Linked DNA regions of Homo sapiens: region 2 is linked to region 1. The links are contacts of gene promoters, found by promoter capture Hi-C in blood cells and fetal thymus (Javierre and others, 2016). All regions are on one chromosome and are shown on one strand. The core of a region is centred on a gene start or on the middle of the fragment in contact, and the rest is flanking DNA. Distances in the headings are between cores, read along the strand shown.

Evidence for each region. The method cuts DNA at HindIII sites, captures the fragments that hold promoters and counts their contacts. A CHiCAGO score of 5 or more calls a contact.
Region 2: a fragment that was not itself captured here is called in contact with the fragment with the promoter of IL2 in region 1 in 1 of 17 cell types (endothelial precursors); the score reaches 5.1 in endothelial precursors.

Annotation. Positions count from the first base shown.
Region 1 is chr4:122,455,328-122,458,943 of GRCh38, forward strand. It overlaps IL2 (interleukin 2), which reads right to left and starts at 1,398. Exons shown (of 4, transcript NM_000586.4): 1 at 967-1,398; 2 at 817-876. The coding sequence starts at 1,113. RefSeq lists an enhancer at 3,384-3,443. The HindIII fragment of the contact is 2,130 bases long and covers 44-2,173 here.
Region 2 is chr4:122,038,544-122,041,892 of GRCh38, forward strand. No RefSeq gene overlaps it. Among named protein-coding and RNA genes, the nearest start is that of TRPC3, 88 kb to the left of the region's middle. The HindIII fragment of the contact is 3,049 bases long and covers 333-3,349 here.

The DNA.
Region 1 (3,616 bases), core at 148-2,647:
GATTATGCTTATGCTCTATCTGAATCCAAAAACAACCTAATGAAGCTTTTAATCTTGGAAAATAAGTCATATAGCATTATAAATCTCAAGTTCTATTGGTAAAAAGATAAAGTCCAAAATTTTACTTTGTATTTCTCAGTGAAAATTTTATCTTTAATACTACTAATAATAGCTAATGCTTGTATGGTATTTACCTTATGCCAGACACGGTTCTGAGTGCTTTACATTTACTTACTAATTCTCACAAAGCCATATTAAGTATATACAGTTATTCATTTAAGTAGACATGAAACTGAATCACAAACAGAGTAGGTAATTTGCCAAAGATCATGAAAGCTAGGACATGGCAGAGCTGAGATTTCACTTCAGATATCTGGCCCCAGACTCTGTGCTATTAGTGTTATGCTGCCTCTCACTTAGAAACCTTTCCTAAAACAAGAAAAGATTTTTAAAAGTGGGCTCCTTGGAAATAGATTTTGGTATTTTACATACTAAAATGACATAATCAAATATTTTAGAGTTTTACATTTTTAAATGAAACCATAAATGAACATTTTTGTTTAGAATTGTCTTATCGATAAAGTGAGAATATTATTTTTATGTTTTCTTCCCACCCCCACCAACACACAAATATATATTAAAAATATAGGTAAAACTGTTTTAATAGAGGCTTCATTATCAAACTTGGGTTTTCAAAAAAACAAATTAAAGTTACTCTTTACCTCAGATGAGCTGCTATTAGTCCCATCTGTGCAAATTTTCATATTACTTTGAATTTTATTAAAACAGAAATTGAACATAAAATATTGTACTTACCTTCTTGGGCATGTAAAACTTAAATGTGAGCATCCTGGTGAGTTTGGGATTCTTGTAATTCTAAGAAAGTATAATGCATTGTTATTAAGAAATGATCTCCAGCTAGATTACTAAATGTAATAATTTTAGTAAGAAAGGAAATATACTTACATTAATTCCATTCAAAATCATCTGTAAATCCAGCAGTAAATGCTCCAGTTGTAGCTGTGTTTTCTTTGTAGAACTTGAAGTAGGTGCACTGTTTGTGACAAGTGCAAGACTTAGTGCAATGCAAGACAGGAGTTGCATCCTGTACATTGTGGCAGGAGTTGAGGTTACTGTGAGTAGTGATTAAAGAGAGTGATAGGGAACTCTTGAACAAGAGATGCAATTTATACTGTTAATTCTGGAAAAATATTATGGGGGTGTCAAAATGTTTTACATATTACACATATTTTCAAAGACTTTACCTGTCTGAAAAAACATTACCTTCATTTTTCCTCTTCTGATGACTCTTTGGAATTTCTTTAAACCCCCAAAGACTGACTGAATGGATGTAGGTGAAATCCCTCTTTGTTACATTAGCCCACACTTAGGTGATAGCTCTAATTCATGCAATTAACGCCTTCTGTATGAAACAGTTTTTCCTCCTTTCTTTAAGGGGGTGGGGATACAAAAGTAACTCAGAAAATTTTCTTTGTCATAAAACTACACTGAACATGTGAATAGCATATTGTGGTGGACAAGAGCAAGAGTAAACAGATGAAAAGAATAAATGTTTAGATTTGTTGATAAAACAGGAAGTGTATTGGTTTCCTGTTTCAGAATGGTTTTACCTTTTTATCCACACAATGAGCTAATTGCATACAATAAGATAGATTGCTTCTTACATGTCAGCTAGAGAAATACTAAGATTAGAATACTTAAAATGCTTATTGAGCTTGAGGTACTGTTTAACGCTATTTTAATTTAAAATGATTATATATCTGTTTAAGTCTCTTAATGTCTATTGTACATTTTTTAAAGGGTGCGATTGTTAAATACTCAGAAAAAGGTTTGCATTCAAGGATACTGATGCTAGTTTTATAATAGACTTTGTATGTGTTATGTGTAAACCAGTCCATGTTTCTCGTTTTTATGTCTTTACCTCTTTAATGGATTTTTATTTATCCTCTAAATCACCTGGGACACTATGAATGTAACAATAATCGTTATGAAATATGATCTTGTTTTTAGTCAGAAGACTAGGATATTTAGGATAGGTGTTCATTCATCCTCAGTACAGTGCACAAACTGGCTGAACAATTGTACGGATATATACTTCTAATTTAACCTGGGGACACTTGAGGAGATCCTGTCTCAGAGAGAGTCCTTGTAAAGCTTCCATTCTATGGCCTTATTTATTTCTTACCTGGACTTTTTTTTTTTTTTTAAAGATGGTATTGTCTGTGTTTTTGTTTGTTTTTTTAAGACAATATTGTCTGGTCTTTAAACAGACATCTAGCACCTATAATGCCTTCAGGTATATAGAAAGAGAGAAAAGAGAACAGTGTACAGGCAGGCACTTAGTCTAATATAAGTCTTACAGACTTGTGAAGTGATGGCTCCTATTTTGCAGATTAGAAAACTGAGGCTCAGAGAAGTTAAGTAATTTGCTCTAGGTCACTCAGCCCTTATTGCCAGTAAGGGGCAGAAGAAGGATTTGAAAAGAGAATGTTCTGACTCCAAAAATCCACTCTCTTACCATTTGTATTTTTTCAAAGAACCTGATTTGTAATAGGGAAGATATGTACATACACAAGTGTAGTCCTGGGTGATAGGTGATTGCTGCCCCAAGGGAGGTGGATATAAGGAATCTTGAATAAGGAACAATTAATTTAAACTGGATTTTGAGGAGGGTGCATAGGCAGGAATGATTAAAGCAGTCTAAGGAACAGTCAAATGTAATATTTTACAAAGAACAGAGAAAAATGGTTCAATAAGAGTTTTCTATGCGTTAGGTAATGTTCGGAGAATATAAAACAAATTTAAAAATAAAGATTATAGTCCCTCAAGTAGAAAAAAAAATGAAGAAAAGGTCAGATTAGGGCCAAATCTCATGAACTTTTTATACGAAAAAATGCAAAATGTCTCTATACATTTCAGATCAAAATCACATTAACGCTGTTATAAGGGGCAGGCTATTTGGTAGTCTGTGTGTTATTTATTTAATATAATAAAGTACAGCTTTATTATACTTGTTTTGCTTCTCTAAAGAGTTTCAGTGTCTAATCCCAGCATCATCACTCAGGCCTTTACCCTTCCAGAATGGAAGAATTCAAGCCCACACATTTTCCTATGTGGGGGCTTTTCCAATGAGGTATTTGATGTTCTCCAGTCTTGATATTTCTATTTCTCTGGCTATTTCCATTAGAGAATGGGGCAATATATGGCTATACTTCTGGGACCCTGTAGAAAACTGAGTTCTTAGACCCCTAGTTTATCTCTGTTAATGCACAGTAGGCACCATTATAGAAGTTGGCTTTTTCATTTCTTTCTTGAAATACGTGTGGAAAAGCTACATTCGCTGTGACATACTTTCGCTTTCTCACGTCTGACACATCAGCTGGCTTTTCTGGTTGTGGCAGTAAAGTCACTAGTAGACTGCTAACTACCACGTGTGTCATACCCCCTGCTTCTCCTTTTACTATGCAGAATTTTACTATTAAACAAGAAGCTATTTTTAGTTGCTTAGCATTGTTTGTGACTTAGCCTCTTAGACTCAAGAGTGGCCCAAGTCCTTTCAAAGGGCAACCCCCATCCCTGAAGCTGCCTACCTAAG
Region 2 (3,349 bases), core at 607-3,106, 420 kb before region 1:
TCATCAACTAGCCATAGATTCCCACTAACTCCCAACCCCATTTTTCATTCTGACCTGAGAACCAAGCCTTTTGTCCAAATATACACAAAGTATAAAATCATTTCCATCAGATCTGGAAAATCTTTTAACCTCGATACTTACAATTCACTCCTAGGAATTAGCCGTCACAGTCAGGCATGAGTTAACAGAGAGCGAGAACCTGTTCTCCTATTTTTCAAACATTTCTGGGGAGAGATGAATTTTCATATTCCAAATTTATATGACAGTGAATCAGGATGATCTCTCTCTCTCTCCCACCCCACCTTTCTCTGGGTGTTAATCACTCATTGAAAAGCTTTTTAAAGACACAGTTCAATATTTTTTTACTGACTCACTGTTAATAAAATTGCAGGTAGTAATTGCAGTCCTTGATTCCTTATGTTAGCACTACTGTATTTCTAAATCATTTAAAAGTGATATAAACAATTTTCTGAAAGTGTGAAAATGCACTATTCCTTGTACATTAAGGTACTGTCACTGCCAACCATCAATAGGACTTGCTTAGTCATTAGTCCTGTACTCCTGCCGAATTAATGTTGAGCCATCTACTTTCTCACCTCAACATCTGCCTAAGTTTAAGCAGGGGTAGTACACAGAATTATAAAGAAAGCAGGAATATTTGGCCCAGAATCCAAAGCTAAAATGTGTCCTTTACTGTCCTGGCTTTCCCACGTGTTGAATTGTACATCTGAGAGAAACTGTGTAGAAACAGCCAAGTTTGATAACAGGGGAGTCCTCACATATAGCAAGTCTAAAATTTCATTAAGTGTTGTTTGGGATGCTATTAATGTTATTACTGTAATACAAACATCAAAGGAAATCAGATCACACACTCAGGGAAATCATTCCCTGCTGGAAATCCTGTTAGCTGACTTCAATTATGCTGTGCTTTTCCTCATTCAGAAGGCTGTGTCAGCCTCATTATCTGATCTCTAAATCACCTGCTTAATGAAAGCGCACACATTTGAAACTCATCAAATTAAATAAAACAAAATTTGAATCTTGTGCTTGTTTGGGTTCAGATCACAGCAATATCAAAATTATTCTGATTGCTATAAGGGTGTCTATGGACAGTAGTTAAGGACATAAGTAGGATTGAATCAAAATTAGAAAGAGAGCCTTTCAGAAGGGAAGGAAGGCTTATAGGAAACCAAAGTAGATGTTTCTTTCAAGATTAGCATCAATTTTGTAAAGTATAATTCAAGATCTGTTAACTTCCCTCTATTATATTCCCCGAAAGGAAAACACAAGCATACAATATATGTATCCTTCTTTTGTTTTCACTTTTATTATGAAAAATGTTAAACATATAGAAAAGAAGAGGGACTAGCATAATAAATACATACATATCACCTTTAAAAAATAATTGTTGGTCAAGTGTAGTGACTCATACCTATAATCCCAGCACTTTGGGAGGCCAAGGTGGGAGGATTGCTTGAGCCCAGGAATTTAAGACCAACCTGAGCACCATGGCAAGACTGTGTCTCTACGAAAAATTTAAAAATTATCCAGGTGTGGTGGCACATACCTGAGCTACTTGTGAGGCTGAAGTGGGAGGATCACTTGAGCCTGGGAGGTTGAGGCTGCAGCGAACCATGTTTGCCCCACTGTACTGCAATCTGGGCAACAGAGTGAGACCCTGTCTCATAAAAAATTATTATTGTGGCATATTTGTTTCATAAATCTAAAGTATTTTAAAACATTATGGAAACCATGATATTTCACCCCCAAATATTTCAAAATGCATCCCTGAAAAACCAGGGTATTTTACTATAACCCACAATTTTATTATCATACCTTATGAAAGTAACAATTATTCCTTATTAGCATTTAATTTTTAGATAATATTTAACGTTCCTCTACTGTCCTAAAGAAGCCCTTTAGAGTTGGTTTATTTGAACCAGGAAATGCACTTACTCTTAAATATCACAAGTCTGACTTTAAGTTAAATGTATTCATGGGTGTATTAATCCGTTTTCACACTGCTATAAAGAGCTACCTAAGACTGGGTAATTTACAAAGAAAAGAGGTTTAATTGACTTACAGTTCTGCAGGCTGTACAGGAAGCATGGCTGGGAGGCCTCAGGAAACTTACAATCATGACAGAAGGTGAAGGGGAAGCAAGCATGTCTTACCATGGCAGAGCAGGAGAGAAGGAGAGAGCGAAGGGGGAAGTGTCACACACTTTTAAACCATCAGATCTGATGAGAACTCACTCACTATCACGAGTATTGCAAGGGGAAAATCTGCCCCCATGATCCAATCACCTCCCACCAGGTCCCTCCCCTAACATTAGGGATTACAATTCAACATGAGATTTAGGTGGAGACACAGAGCCAAACCATATCGATGGATATCTTTATAAATTTTAACAATGCATATACGACTTTCAATTGTACATAAAATGTGGCCAAAGAAATAAATTCACCTCCTTATTTTTCAGGCATTGAGTTGCCTGTATCCAACATTTCCTAGCATTTAATTCAAAATGTTTTTGCTCTCTTTGTTTTAATTTCCACAAAACTATTGTAAGAAGCCAAAGAGGGGTGGAAATGTTTTCCACTGCTAAACAAGTAGAAAAGCCTTCTCACTATCTCAAAAGTTATGACACATGTGTAGAAACAAATGTCAAGGGTAAAATGCCTTGAATATTCCGTATCACTCTGATACATTTTAGTCCAAAACATTGATTATGAAAATAACTTGATTCACTCAATATGTCTTGTGTAGATCCTAGTAATTTCATTGGCAGCTATAGAAAGGAGCTATTGAGAACATTCAGACAGCCTCTCTGAGAACTTGTCGAAGACGCCCAGTTGCTAGCTGGTGCCTCGGATCTGTGGGACACACTGTGTCTGCACCTTGCCAGCCAGGATTGGTCGGGGAGAAACTGAATGTGTCACCCAACAGGCTCTTCTTAGTGGCCTCACAACATGAGAATGTGGATAGCTTATTTTGGAGAGGAATCCAGAACACATTTTGCTCTCCACTTCACTGCAGCATGCCAGTCACTGGTATGTAACACTGGATCAAGGCAAGCCTGGGAACACGCTATGCAAGGAAAGTTTTTCAACCCCAGTAACTAATTCTTCATCACTGACCCACCAATTGTGTCAATAGTTTTGGATCCTCCAACGACGTATGTAACCAAAGTTTGCAAATCACACTAACATGACTATCCAAATTGTGGATTTAGCTAGTGAGATCTGTTATCTACTTATGATAATGTACTAACAGTACTGGTTATAATTCAGAAAATGAAGAATTTCCTGTTAATTTGTGCAAAATAAGTATTTCCTCAAGAAAACTC